Regions from separate parts of the Homo sapiens genome. Here region 1 is linked to region 2. Evidence: promoter capture Hi-C in 16 types of primary human blood cells and fetal thymus (Javierre and others, 2016). All regions are on one chromosome and are shown on one strand. Each heading gives the region's core, a stretch centred on a gene start or on the middle of the fragment in contact. The rest is flanking DNA. Distances are from core to core; before and after follow the strand shown. Region 1 holds the start of TSPAN9 (tetraspanin 9). Region 2 holds the start of CACNA1C-AS1 (CACNA1C antisense RNA 1).

Region 1 (7,196 bases), core at 2,358-4,857, 390 kb before region 2:
TGCTGGCTGGCCCTGGGGTTACAGGCCTGCGAAAAGGGGGCACTCCCTCCAGCCACCCCAGGTTCAAGGGCTTCCCACCTAAGCTGGGCTGCTTCTCCACAACTCTCCCGATTAATTCCTCAAGGTCAGCATTTACTAAGCACACAGCAGGAGCTTAATAAAGCACACTAAACAGACAGAATAGTGGCTGCCAGAGGCTGGGAGGAGGGGGAAACAGTTGTTTCAAGAATATTAAAGCTTCAGTTTTACAAGGTAATTTCTGGAGCTGTCGCACAACAATGTAAATAGACTTAATGCTACTGAACTGTACATTTAAGAATGGTTAAAATGTACACTTAAGATTTTACATTTGCCAGGCGCGGTGGCTCATGCTTGTAATCCCAGCACTTTTTGGGGCCGAGGAGGGTGGATCATGAGGTCAGGAGTTCAAGACCAGCCTGGCCAACATGGTGAAACCCCGTCTCTACTAAAAAAAATACAAAATTTAGCCGAGGGTGATGGCGGGCGCCTGTAGTCCCAGCTACTGGGGAGGCTGAGGCAGAGAATTGCTTGAACCCGGGAGGCGGAGGTTGCAGTGAGCTGTGATTATGCCACTGCACTCCAGCCTGGGCGACAGAGTGAGACTCCATCTCAAAAACAACAACAACAAAAAAAAGATTTTACATTCAGTGTTTTTTTAACCACAATTTTAGAATTTTTTATATAAAGCACACTTCCTAATTGATTGAGTGGCTGCCAATATCTTACACTGTTAATTATCTGATGCTGGAAGAGACTCTAGAATATTTCTAATCCAATATACCACCAAAACAGAGAGTTGGAAAGAGGAGGTAAATTGCCCAAGGTTGCACAAATAGGTGGTGCCAGGTGAAGACAAGGCTCAACATAGAGGAAAGGGGCTGGGCGTGGTGGCTCACGCCTGTAATCCCAACACTTTGGGAGGCCAAGGTAGGAGAATTGCTTGAGGCCAGGAGTTCAAGACCAGAGACCAGCCTGGGCAACATAGCACAACCCTGTCTCTACCAAAAAAAAAAAAAAAATTTTTTTAATTATCTGAGCATGGGGCCTGTACCTATAGTCCCAGCTACTCGGGAGGCTAAGGTGGGAGGATCACTTGAGCCCAGGAGTTGGAGGCTGCAGTGAGCTGCTTGTGTCCCTGTGCTCCAGCCCAGGCAACAAAGCAAGACCCTGTCTCTAAAAAAAAAAAAAAAAAATAGAAGAAGGGGCTAAGTACGGTGGTTCATGCCTGTAATCCCAGCACTTTGGGAGGCCAAGGCAGGCGGATCACCTGAGGTCAGGAGTTTGAGACCAGTCTGGCCAACATGGCGAAACTCCATCTCTACTAAAAATACAAAAATTAGCCAGGTGTGGTGGCGGGCACCTGTAATCCCAGTTACTTGGGAGGTTGAGGCAGGAGAATCACTTGAACCCAGTAGGCAGAGGTTGCAGTGAGCCGAGATAGTGCCATCGCACTCCAGCCTGGGCAACAAAAGCAAAAGTCTGTCTCAGAAAAAAATAAATAAATAAAATAGAAGAAGGGCAGAGAGGCAGATGGCAGAATAGATGGCACAAGGCAGGAAGGTCAGAAGCCAGGGTTCAAGTTTTGCTTCTTTCACTTAATGAGTGTTGTGACCTTAGATAAGATACTTATTCTCTCTGAGTATCATTTTCTTAACCTATAAGAAGGCAATTAAAAGTAACAAACTTCAGCCAATGCGGTGGCTCACGCCTATAATCCCAGCACTGTGGGAGGCCAAGGCAGGTGGATCACTTGAGGTCAGGAGTTCAAGACCAGCCTGGTCAACATGGCAAAACCTCATCTCTACTAAAAATACAAAAATTAGAAGGCGTGGCGGCACGCGCCTGTAATCCCAGCTACTCGGGAGGCTGAGGCAGGAGAATGGCTTGAACCTGGGACGCGGGGGTTGCAGTGAGCTGAGATCCTGCCACTGCACTCCAGCCTGGGCAACAGAGTGAGACTCTGTCTCAAAAAAAAAAAAAAAAGTAACAAATTTCACAAGATTACGTATGAATTAAATAAAATTATATACAGCTAATGTAACGTGCATAGAAAAAACTTGGCCAACTATAAATTACTTTATCAACACTAGTTATTGTTATTAATATTAAATATCTGTTCATAGGTTTAAAAAGCTCTGCCAGAATATTAAAATCTGATTAAACCAGACCAAAAAAAAAAAAATCCTACTCTCACCTGTTCAGGGACTTGCACACAGGGCGTCTTCAGTGAGTGAGAGTAGAACTGAATTACACTTCAAGTTTTATCTACCCCAATCCTCTCCCTCCAACCCACAGCCCAGCTGCATCAGCCATGCCAGGACCAAGCCGAGGGTAGGAAGCCGGTGTAATTGTCTGCCTCTCTGGCTGCATTCCTTAGCTAAATATAAATGATTTGTCCAGGCTATTGTTTGAAATTATCCATAATCCCTCTCCTCCCCTCCCCATTACTTATGATGGCAAGCTGGCTGCGTATCTCTATAGCAAAGCATATATTCAACATTCTCTGTGGCTATTTTCAGTAAAGAGAAGGGAGCTGGCAGGTATATATAGGGATCCTCGCATGAGTCTTCAGTTTTCTCCACTAGTCCAGGAAAGCTTCCTGGAGGAGGAAATACCTGAGTCACCCCAGGGAAAAGGACAGCTGCAGGTCAGAAGGGCACGCGCACATAATGAGAGACTGGGTCTCTGAACTAAGAGTTACCAGGTAAGGCAGGTAAGCCCCTGCCTTCTTACCCCCCGTTTTGGTGATGCGAGAAAAAGGTAGCTCAGGGGATCCCATACTAGCCCAAGCTTCCCCAGACAAAACAGGCATTTGGGGGAAGATGAAGCAGTGACTCGTATATTTTTCAAAGAGGGAGGAGATCCAAGACTCCAGTTCCAAGATGTACAAGTACAAATATTGCTCTTACAACAACAAGCCGGTTTCTTGTTTGGATCTTTTTTTAAAAACCACAAGAAAGTTTTTTGAAGTCCCAAACTTGAATGCACAGATGGGCTAGATCTCCAACTTCGGGATGTGCCAGAGTCCTGTCACTCGGAGTGCTGATCTTCCAGCAGTGGCCCAGGGAGCGGTCGCGGGTGCCGGGGGGCTGCAGGCCATATCCCAGCCCTGCCCGAAGGCCCCCTGGCCCTCTCTGGGGTCCTTGTATGGACTGTCCCAAGCGGTGCACGGGGTCACACAGTCGGAAACCCTTGCCGGCCCCGGGTTACTCCCTTTCTGAAACGGTCTTCCTCGGAGCCATCCCCTGGAGGACCCCACTTCGCTCGGTGCCCGGGCCCCGCACCCACCCTCCCCTTCCCGGCCCGCTTCCCGCACGGCGCCTACTCTGTTCCTCGTCCTCTCGTCCCACCGCCGCCCTGCCCACACTGCCTCCCGTGGGCGCCCCCGGCCGCTCCCCCTTCTCGGGTCTCGGCCTGGGGGTGCCCAGCCCGCCCGGCGCCGGCTCAAGGCCGCGCGACTCCGCACGCTCTCGAGACCCGCCTCGCCGCCCGCCGCCCGGGCCGCACTCACCGCGCCCGCAGGACCTGGGGGTCTCCGCTCTGCTCGCGCTCCGGCACCGCCGCCGCCGCCGCCGCCAGCGGAAACAGGGGGCGGGGCCTGCCCGGGAATGGCGAGCCTGCGGGGCGGGGCGGCCCGGGGGCGGAGCGGGGAGGGGCGGGGCGGAGCGGGGAGGGGCGGGGCGGAGAAGGATCGCAGGGCTGAGCGGGGCGCCAGCGCCAGTGCCCGGCACTGCCCCGGGCTGGGTCCCCTGCGTTAGAGGAAGGGGAGCCCGGGGACGGGGCACGGGGCCCGCGAGGCACGGGTGCTCTCTCGGGGTTCCGGAAGCCTCCCTCCCCGCCCCGCCGCCCGCATGCCCGGACCGGCCGCTCCTCCGAGGTGCTATGATCCCGCCTTCCCCCTGCGGCGAACGGGCCTCTTCCCGGGGTAGGGGCGGGGAGGTCCGGGCCTGGCAGTGCGCTCTCCTGGGCTCTGCGCCCACACGGCACCCAAGGGCCTTCCTGGCCCAGGCCTCGGCTCTCTCCCTCGCGCCAGGCTGCCTGGCCTCGCCACCCCACCCCCACACCTACGAACCCCTTCCCTGGTGTTTCGGGCGGACTGTGCGAGATGCTGACAGCGCGGGTGTGTGTTGGAGCCTGCCTGAGACACCTCCCGCAGAAAGGGCCATGCCTCCCCAGGAGCTGGCGGCCTCCAAGGGCGACTACAGGGCACCGTGTGCCTGAGGGGTGCGCTAAGGCAGGAGAAACTCCAGCTAGGCATGTCTGGCCCGGGCGCTTTTTCAGGCCTGGATTTTATGTGTTTTTTGCTTTTTGTTTTGTTTTGTTTTTTCTTGAGACAAGGACTCACTCTGTTGCCCAGGCAGGAGTGCAGTGGTGCGATCACGGCTCACTGCAGCCTCGACTTCCCGGGCTCAAGTGATCCCGCCTCAGCCTCCAGAGTAGTTGGGACTGTAGGCGCGCACCACCACGTCCGGCGAAGTTTTTGATTTTTTTTGTACAGACGGTGGTCTCCCTGGGCCCAAGCTGGTCTCAAACTCCCGGGCTCAAGCCATCCTCCTGCCTCTGCCTCCCAAAGTGCTGGGATTATAGGCCCGGATTCTTAAAGCTAGAAGGCCTAAACTTGTTTCCAAAGAGCACTAAAACGCCATCTCTTCTCATCATTACTGTCATCAAAAATGTCTTCTAGGCCAGGTGTGGTGGCTCACGCGTGTAATCCCAGGACTTTGGGGGGCCCAGGTGGAAGGATTGCTTGAGCTCAGGAACTCAGGAATTCAAGAACAGCCTGGGCAACATAGGGAAACCCCATCTCAAAAAAAAAATGTTTTAATTAACCGGGTGTGGTGGCACACCCCTGTAGTCCCAGCTGCTCCGGAGGCTGAGGCTCAGGCGTTGGAGGCTGCAGTAAACTAGGATCATGCCACTGTACTCCAGCCTGGGCAGTAGAGGGAGACCCTGTCTTTAAAAGTGAAATTTTTTTAAATTTTAAAGAAACTGTATGCTGTGCTTCCCACGTGCCCTACCATTGCACTAAGCTTGACTGGGGACAAGTTTTTAAAACCTGGCTATAATCACTAGGGTCACTTTTGCTTTCTGCTAATTAGACTGGAAGTTTCCACTCATCTTCTGGGCCCCTTTCCGTCACACACATGCAACCTTGTTTTTGTCTATTAGACTAAACCCATAACCCATTTCCTTCTGATCTCCCTTTCCCCACAAGGAAAATATTCTCCTTCTACATTTTGCTTCATCCAAAGCCCTGTTCAATGCCCCTATAACAAAGTCTTCCCAAGGAACCCCCACCAGCCCCAATCTCTCCAGTCACTGCGGCAGAGTTGGGTACATGTACCCAGAAAAGGAAACTGGGTCTCAGACAGGGAAAGAGATATACTAGGATTGTCTGCCAGCAAGCCAACTCACTGGCAGACCATTGGACGCAGCCTGGTGAGGGAGTAGCCGCAGGGCTTGGGAGCCAGACACACCTGTCTGAATCCTGGCTCTGCTTTTATCGGCTGGGACCTCTTCAGGCCTGTTTTCTCACCTGTGGAATGGGGCATAAGAATACCAATTATGGGGATGGGCATGGTGGCTCACACCTGTAATCCCAGTACTTAGGGAGGCCGAGGCGGGTGGATTACCTGAGATCAGGAGTTTGAGACCAGCCTGGCCAACATGGTGAAACCCCGTCTCCACTAAAAATACAAAAATTAGCCGGGTGTGGTGGCACATGCCTGTAATCCCAGCTACTCGGAGGGCTGAGGCAGGAGAATTGCTTGAGCCTGGGAGACGGAGGTTGCAGTGAGCCAAGATCGTGCCACTGCACTCCAGCCTGGTCGACAGAGCGAGACTGTCTCAAAAAAAAAAAAAAAAAAAAACCAATTCCACAGGGTTGATGGGCTGACCAAGATGATGGAGTAAAAGCACAACATGTGATGTGTGGTGACTGCTCTACAAATGCTAGCTTCCTCCTGCCCTTTTTGGTTTTTGTTTTGTTTTGTTGTTTTTGAGACAGGGACTTGTTCTGCCACCCAGGCTGGAGGGCAGTGGTGCCATCATGGCTCACTGCAGCCTCCAACTCCTGGACTCAAGGATCCTCCAACCTCAGACTCCTAAGTAGCTGGGACCACACGTGCATGCCACCATACCCAGCTAATTGGGGTTTTTGTTTGTTTTGTTTTTGTTTTTGTTTTCGTTTTCGTTTTGTTTTGTAGAGACAGAGGCCTCACTATGTTGCTCAAGCTAGTTTTGAACTCCTGGCCTCAAGCAATCCTCCCACCTTGGCCTCCCAAAGTCCTCCTGCCCTTTAAAAAAAGATAGGCGGAGCACAGTGGCTCACACCTGTCATCCCAGCACTTTGGGAGGCCAAGGCAGGTGGATCACTCAAGCCCAGGAGTTCGAGACCAGCCTGGCCAACATGGCAAAACCCCATCTCTACTAAAAATACAAAAATTAGCCAGGTGTGCATGGGCGTGGTGGCACATGCCTGTACGGGAGGCTGAGGTGAGAGGATTGCTTGAGCCCAGGAGGTCAAGGCTGCAGTGAACCATGATTATACCACTGCTCTCCAGCCTGGGTGACAGAGTGAGACTCTGTCTCAAATTAATTAATTAATTAGAGCAAATCTGAAATAATGGAATTCTGAAGTCTTAGAGATAGATGAAATCTTAGAAGAAATCCCTCAGCAATAGCCCAGAAAATGGCTTCACTGCTCACTCTCCTTCACCACATTCAGAGGTGAATGCCTCAGTGCCTCTGAGGGGCTGACAGTTGGAAGGAAGCTCTGAAGAAAAGCTGTAGAGGAGATGGGATTATTCAGCATAAAGGACACAAAGGTGACTAGTGGTCTGTGAAGCAGACACACTGATAGTGTCCACTGAGGACTAAACGCAAGTAAACCTGACAATGACGCACCACCCTCTTGGGGAAGGGACTTACAAACGCATGAAGTCACTGCTTATCATACCAGGCTTCTGAGGAAATGTCATTGCATTTCCCTTCTGGAGGAGATTCTGAAAAATGCTGAGGTTAGATATAGGTAGGGTGACTGTATCCAGGTTTCGGGGGCACATCCTACTTACTCCTCTTGTCCTGGCATAGTTCCTAAGTCCCCTTTCACTCTCGAAATATCCTGGCGTGGATGATAAATTATATGCCATTTTAACTGTGAACAAAGGCAGGAC
Region 2 (7,132 bases), core at 3,734-6,233:
CAAACCTCTTAAAGTCATCCCAGGAAAAAGTGTTGATTGTAGTATTCTCTCAATGTATGTAAATAGAATTTATGTCATAATAATAGTAGGTTCTGATGGTACTACTTCCATCCAAGGGAGTCACTCTACTGCACCCTCCTTGTCTGTGTATACAGTGCTCACCCTTGCAGGAGCAGGAAAGTCCCTCATCTAGAGCTCAACCCCAGCCCTTGTGCCTTAACGGTGTGTGTCTGTGTAGTGAGGGGGGTTGTTCAAGCATCCCCCGTCAATGTAGAGATGTGGCAGAAACCCGTTCACCTGTTGTATTGGTATCTGGCTCCAGAAAGAAAAGTTTCATTGCTTTGACATAAGAATAAATTGATGAATGAAGTTAAACCCAGAAGAGGCTTCACAAAGAGGTCGTGTAAGCATCTGCCCATGGGACTCCCTTCCACGCACCGTCTTTCTCACTAGGTGTTGGGGAGGACAGGGAGCTGGGGCTGGGGAGGGCAGTGGGAAGAGGGAGCTTTGCTTAGGGACAGGGAAAGGTGCCCCATTCCTGACAGTTGTAGGACTTTTCTTTCCCTCCTGTCTTCCCCCTCAACCTCCTCAAATCGTAGCCTCTGGAGAACCTGGACTCTGGCGGCTGAGGGCCTCCCTGGGAGTGAGGTTTGGGCTTCCCCGCCTGTCTTTGCACAGCAGCCTGTGTCAGGTGGCACCTGGACAGCCTGAGGGGAGGGACATCAGCAGAGGGGGGACAGGGTGGCAGACACCCCCACATCCCACCAGGTAGGCTGATGTGGCTGGAACAACACCCCCAGATGGAATGAGTACTCTTCTCACCTTCCCAAATAGATCCTTGAGATGTCAGCGGCTCCACCACACTGGTCACTGTGGGTGGGTAAGCTGAACACATCCTTCCATGAACTGGGAAGAGGCACAGAGGGAGTCAAAATATGCCCTTTTCTTGCCTCCATTCTCCTCCCAGTCCTCTCTGTGCTGACATTTGCCCCAGAGGCAGGTCTTCTTTAAAATATGGAAACGGCCCAGACTCCATCAGCAAGTATTTGCCTCCCCTGGGGTTTAAAGAGGTCTTCTGGGAGTCAGCAGGCCCTTTTTGTGGCCTCTTTGCTGAATTGTTTCTAATCCTTGACAATGATATTTCAATTCTTGGCCTCTAGGGATGGAGATGCCATCATCCTCCTTTACCACCTTTCCCACGATGAGGCTAAAAACCCCGATGACCAGGGTTCCACTCTATCCCTGACCTACATTCGTGTTTTCTTTCTTTGCCTTTAGGAGTGGTGGCTGTGTATCTTCAGGACTCCATAAAGTAGCCACCATCTTTTGGGTGACTTCCAAAGTCCTCATTTTCTAGGTGTCACTGTTGCTCAGGAGATGAACTTGGGCATGGAAAGGTCTGCTTCTCCTGAGGTTGCCCCACTGTCTTCAGCTGCATGGGCAGGAGACATGCTGGGTGGAGAAAAGCTGGGAGAAAGTAACGGGTAGCTTCACTCCAGACAAGCACCTGGAATTTGGAACTGGGAAATAGAATGAGAGACATTGCCTTGTTCCTTTGAGTGGATTTCCCAGTGAGAGTGAGGCCTATTGGATTAAGAAGAAGGAAAGGGGTTATAACTAGTACCTTCTGAATCAAAGCTGGGAAAAATTCTCCAAGGTCTGGAAATGAAAGAGGCAGGGCTGGTCGGAGGACAAGAATTAAGTTGACCAAACTGCAGACCTTAAACTGTTGTTTCTTCAAGTCCCTTGGGCCCTTAGCCCCTGACTGTTTTCTCCTGACACTTGGGGGCTGTCAGGAGGGGTATGGAAGATGTGACAATTATGTTTTACAAGGTCATGGGGAAAATTCCATTTTAGGTGGAGAGTAGACATCACTTGGAAGATTGTGCTGTGGTTCATTGATGTCACTACTTGTGCCAGTCTGTTCTGATGACAGGCATCATACGCCAGTCTTATTCTAGTGGATCAGAAGGTCAAGCTAGGATAGTCCTCCTGCCCTAGACAGGGAACGCCTGTGTGTACCTCCTGGTAGAAATCTTGGGAACTTTTCAAAGGATGATACCTAAACTCAATTTCTAGAGGACCTTGATGGCAGTGAAAAGGAATCAAGAAAGTTTGGATGACTTGGGTGTGGATATCCATAAAGAAACTCTGTTTCTAGACTGTGTTAACCGGGGAGTATTGAGTACATTTCTCCACTTTGTCATGAATCAGTCCAGCAAGCTGTCATAGAGGAATGGACTGTCCCTTATTGTAATTTCTAGCTTACTTATATATGTGCCAAGAGGGGCTCAGGGAACACTAGGACTGGAAGAGATTTAATGGGTCAATTCTGGGTGAATGGTTGGGTCCTGTTTTCCCCAAAGCAGTCCCTTTTCAGCCACCACTGTTGACATACATTTGAAGGACACAGCACCAAAAGAGTGATGTTCTAGGGAGATATAAGTGAGCATTAGAGATGCCCCCACAAAAATCTGTTCCCACCCCCACTGTGAGCTCCGGATGCCTCTTCCCTTGTCCTGGCCCCCTCCCCGGCAGCCCAAACATTAGGGCAAGCCTGAAGGAAAGGCTGCTCCAGAGTGAGGAAGGGATGGAGAAAGGAGCACGCAGAGTTGACTTTCAGATGGATCAGGGTTTCACCAGTTCCTTTCTCGAGCCCCTGCTGTCCTTGTTGGGTAGAGCAACAAGAATCCGGAAGTGAGGATGCCCCTCCCTCCAAGCAGCCTGACTTTAATTTTATCCTCCCGGTTAGTGTACACTTTCCTAAGGAAGCCAAAGAGAAAATTCCGTGTGGTGGAAGGGAAGGGAAAGCCAGCTACCTCTTCCATGGGGGATGCGGATGACGGCCCAGTGACTGAGGGCTCATCAGAACGCCTCCCTGCACCTCACAGTGAAGGGCTGTTCTTGGAGAAGTACCAAATCAGATGACCAGAGCAGAGTGGACAGAGTGAAGACTGGAATAAAATAGGTCCTGGTCTCTCACAGCAAGAGGCGGTACAAACATACCCAGCAAACGATTTTGGAAAAATTGAGGGAAATGTAAGCAAACACAAGATATGCAAAACAGTAATGTCCAAACCTGTTTGTGGAGAGCAGAATAATGACTACACTGGTGATACCTTTGCTCATTGTGCAAACTAAAGAAAACTTGTTCCCTTTCCCCCAACCACATATAGAAAAGCACTTGAGTTCAAAGGTAAAGCTTGTCACACTCCAAATACAAAATGATTTACTTTACATGCAGCAAAATATACAAGAAGTGAATCCGAAAACCAACTTAATTCAATTCATTATATTCGCTTGGCACAATTGCAATTCAGTTTTAAAAAAATATTTGAAAAATACTGAAACTGACCTGAATTCAAGTATAACGGTTTCTTCAACAGAAACATTATCAATGCAATAAAACATTACACGGAATATATTGAAGCAAAATGCCTTCTTGTGTTTTTCCCTTAAATTTCTGTCTTTTTTTAAAATACAGTTTTAATGCCAACACAACTCACAATTGTATTTTTAAATGAATATTATTGCATTGTTTTTGCATATCTTGTGGGACAGAAAATGCAAAGAGTTACTGATTCCCGTTTCAGAAGCAGAGACAGTGGTTTGTTTTTGCTTTCAAACGGCCCCAGATTCAGATCTTCCCACAGCTAAACCAGAAAGGGGGGACTGCGTAGTCACTGGTGTGCACGGGCACATGGTGTGGGTGCATATACACGGGCAGGACATATGCACACAGACAACCCACCACACACACACGCGTCGCACACACTCGGAGACTCTCTCGCGCATGCTCCTCTCTCCCAAACCCACCTGTACACCCAGCATAAAAAGGAACCCAACTCTATCACCCACATGTGCAAGACCACATCAAGTGCATTGCCAGTTACCTTTCCATTAGATAACCGAACCAAACCAGAACAAAAATAGGTTACTACCTAAGGAAATGATAACAAATTATTGGGCATACACAATGGTTGGTAAAACTCTCCTGCAGCGGCTTCTATTGAACCTCCGTGGAAAAAGGAAACCACAACCGTTTAAATAATACAAGAAAACCAAACCCGATGTACATTGGCAAAAGTGAAAACAGAAAGGTGAGGGGGCTACAGGACTTTGTAAACACTCTTCTTCCTCCCCTCCCGCTGGGAAAGCAAAATAAAACATTTAAAAAAAACCAAAACCGAAAAGAAACTGCAACATGCTGTCAAGAAAAGTGTCAAACCACAAAACAAAAGAGCGCTCAGCGGAAGCTCAGCACCACCTGGTTGGGCGGAGCCGGCGGCGCAGCTCCTCCCTCGCGCTGCCTGCGGGCCGGCGGCTGGCCGGGAGCTCGGCGTGGCCCGTGCCGGTCGGGGGATCCCGTCGCAGGTGGGCAGGGACGGAGTGAGCCGCACCACTGCCGGCCCGACGCCCATCCCCAGAGCTCCGCGCCCCTGGAGGCCTCCTCCTCCCTCTCCGGGCCGGGTTGGGGTCCTCCTGGAAGTCCTGCCCCGCTCCCTTCTCCAAATCCGCAGGGCCCTGGCTCTAGGGAGACAGCGAGGCTCGTACAGAATATGTGCAAATGGTTTCTACAAGCAGAGTCGAAAGACACCCGTTTGCTGTAGGGTCCTTTTGGTGAGGGCGCGCGGGAAGCCGGGGTGCTCTCCCCGCGGAGGCGCGGCCGGGCCCGGGGCCTGCGAGCTGGGAGAGGGCAGGCGCCTTCCTCGCGCCCCGGGACCCTCGCCGCCTCCTCTCCCCGCCTCTGCAGACGCAGCCGGGCGCCTTCCTCCCGGAGGGCGGCTCGCGCACCCAGGCTCCGCGTCTGGTCCCAACAGAAATGAATGAAGACGCTGTTCCGGTTAACTCCAGGTCACGAGAACAGTGAGGCACTTCTGAAACGAACCCATTAGGAACATTGAAACAAATAAAAAAAAGCCCGCATCTGGCAGCGCCCACTACAGGCTGCTGACGTAGACCCTGCTGTCCTGGAGCTCCTCCTCACTCGGTCGACCCCGCGCGCGCACACAGCCCGCGTCCTCTTCGCCCCCGGCTCGGTCCTGCCCCGCGTCCCTGCAGTTCACAAAGGGTAAGAGGGCGCCATTGGGGCTCTGTGGGGCGCCCCCGCTGAGGATGTTGTCGGCCGCGCTCTCCATCTCCTCTATGGTCATGTCGCAGGCGTCGGCCAGCTCCTGGGTGGTGACCTCGATGAACTTGGGATCTTGAGCAAACTGCCCCAGTCCTTCTGAAATCAAGACCTGAAGGAGCGGGGTGGGAGCCATGAAGAACCAAAGGAACATTACTCCTGGAGCCCAGCTCTTCCCTTGAGGGCTAGAGCGAGGGGGTATCTGGTAGGTCACTTGGGGAAGTGTGCGTGTGTGCACGTGTACGTGTGTGTGTTGGGAGGGGCACCCATGGGGAACAAGTGGAGATGGAGCATCTGCCAGAATTAGGGATGTGCAGGCCAGAGAAGTTTTGGCTGGGGTGGTCAAACACTGTCATCAAATATATGAAGACTTGCTTATGGCCCAGCACGGTGGCTCACACCTGTCACCCAGCACTTTGGGAAGCCCAGGCAGAAGGACTGCTTGAGCCCAGGAGTTCGAGACCAGGCCCAGGCAACACAGGGAAACTTCGTCTCTACAAAAAATTTAAGAATAATTAGCTGGGTGTGGTGATGCACACCTGTGATCTTAGCAAGGCCAGAGACTGAGGTGGGAGGATCATTTGACCCCAGCAGCGCCAGGCTGCACTGAGCTGTGATTGTACCACTACACTCCAGCCTGGGTGACAGAGCGAGACCCTGTCTCAAAAAACAACCAAAACAAAAACCAGAGAAGGTTTGGCTCTCAGAGGGGCCGGGGGGTTGCCCTGATGCTGTATCAGCAGATCCCAGCCTGCCTCTCTCCTTTCTGACACCCACTGAACCTTTATACTATTCTTTCAGAGAAACCATTCTCCCTGGTGAAACTGCTGAGACAGGCCCACTGCCCATTGCCTGCTGCTGCCTTTCCAGGGGTGAGGTATCTGTGCAAACACGGCGCATGCCCCTGCCTTGCTTCTGCTGGGAAGGGCCAGCAGGTGACCCTTAAGCTTCTCTGTCCTCCCTACCGGCTGCTTAGTGCCTGGCTATGGGAAAATCGGCTCCTGAGCCAGCGGGTCGGGGGAAGCTGAGTGCAGCCTGGCACTCGCTCCTTTCAGGCATCTGTTTGTCTTGCTCCTTGCCCACGCCACTCATTCTCTCCTTGCCCTGCTTAGTTTTTCTTTGGCACTCCTGACCTTCCTGATGTGTTATATATGTATGTGTTTATTATCTGTCTCTCCTCACCATGATGTGAGCTCATGAGAGCAGAAGCTCTGTTTCTCAGCTGTGTCCCTGTACCTAGAACAGGGCCTGCACATGGTAGGCGCTCAGGGAAGGTCTGTGAAATGAATGCAGGATGATCGAGGCCACAGGAATACCAGACTTTGAGAGGTAAACCTTGGAAGCCACCTGGTTTAACGCCCCACCTCCTGCACCACAGCCTGACGCCCGGATGAGCACAGTCTCTGCTTGGCTATGTCTGATGATGGGGGGCTCACTACCTTTCAGGCAAGCCCCTCTCATCTTGGAAGAGCTCATTTGGGAAGGTCTTCCCCATGTGAGCTGAAATCTGTCCGCTGGTGGGCTGAGCCTGCCACCCTTTCCCCATCCCACCCGTTGCAGGTGTGAGAGGTGTATCGCACCCTCCAAAGTCACCTCCTCTCCAGGTTTTCTTCCCGAATTCCCTGAAACGGTTCTCCTAGGAAATGGTTTCTAGGAACCTTGCCATCCTGGTCATCCTCTGTTGGGTTTGTTCCAGTGTGTCAAAGGTCCCTAATAATGTGGTGCCGGGATTGCACTAGATGCTCTGACCAGGCAGAGCACAGTGGGACTGAAAGCTCGCTTGTTCTAGGCTAGTGGCTCTCAACCTTGCTACACGTTAAAATCATCGAAGAGCTTTAACAATCATCAGTTAATCTGTCCCGGGTTTCCAAAGCTCCCCAGGTGATGCTCACGGGCAGTCAGGCCTGAGCACCTTGGATCTTGCCTGTCTGTGTATAAAGGCAGCCAGGCTCACATTTGCATGTCGAGCAGCTGCAGTATAAGGGATAAGTTGCTCAGTGGTTT

Evidence for each region. The method cuts DNA at HindIII sites, captures the fragments that hold promoters and counts their contacts. A CHiCAGO score of 5 or more calls a contact.
Region 1: the fragment with the promoter of TSPAN9 here is called in contact with the fragment with the promoter of CACNA1C-AS1 in region 2 in 6 of 17 cell types (fetal thymus, naive CD4 T cells, activated CD4 T cells and 3 more); the score reaches 7.9 in fetal thymus.

Annotation. Positions count from the first base shown.
Region 1 is chr12:3,073,790-3,080,985 of GRCh38, reverse strand. TSPAN9 (tetraspanin 9) reads right to left here and starts at 3,607. Exons shown (of 9, transcript NM_006675.5): 1 at 3,533-3,607. RefSeq lists silencers at 3,502-4,001, 4,052-4,101. The HindIII fragment of the contact is 2,240 bases long and covers 2,814-5,053 here.
Region 2 is chr12:2,689,008-2,696,139 of GRCh38, reverse strand. CACNA1C-AS1 (CACNA1C antisense RNA 1) reads left to right here and starts at 4,983. Exons shown (of 4, transcript NR_045725.1): 1 at 4,983-5,071; 2 at 5,161-5,333; 3 at 5,930-6,000. It overlaps CACNA1C (calcium voltage-gated channel subunit alpha1 C), which reads right to left. Exons shown (of 47, transcript NM_000719.7): 47 at 1-5,240. The coding sequence ends at 4,941. RefSeq lists a silencer at 4,254-4,523. The HindIII fragment of the contact is 2,873 bases long and covers 3,205-6,077 here.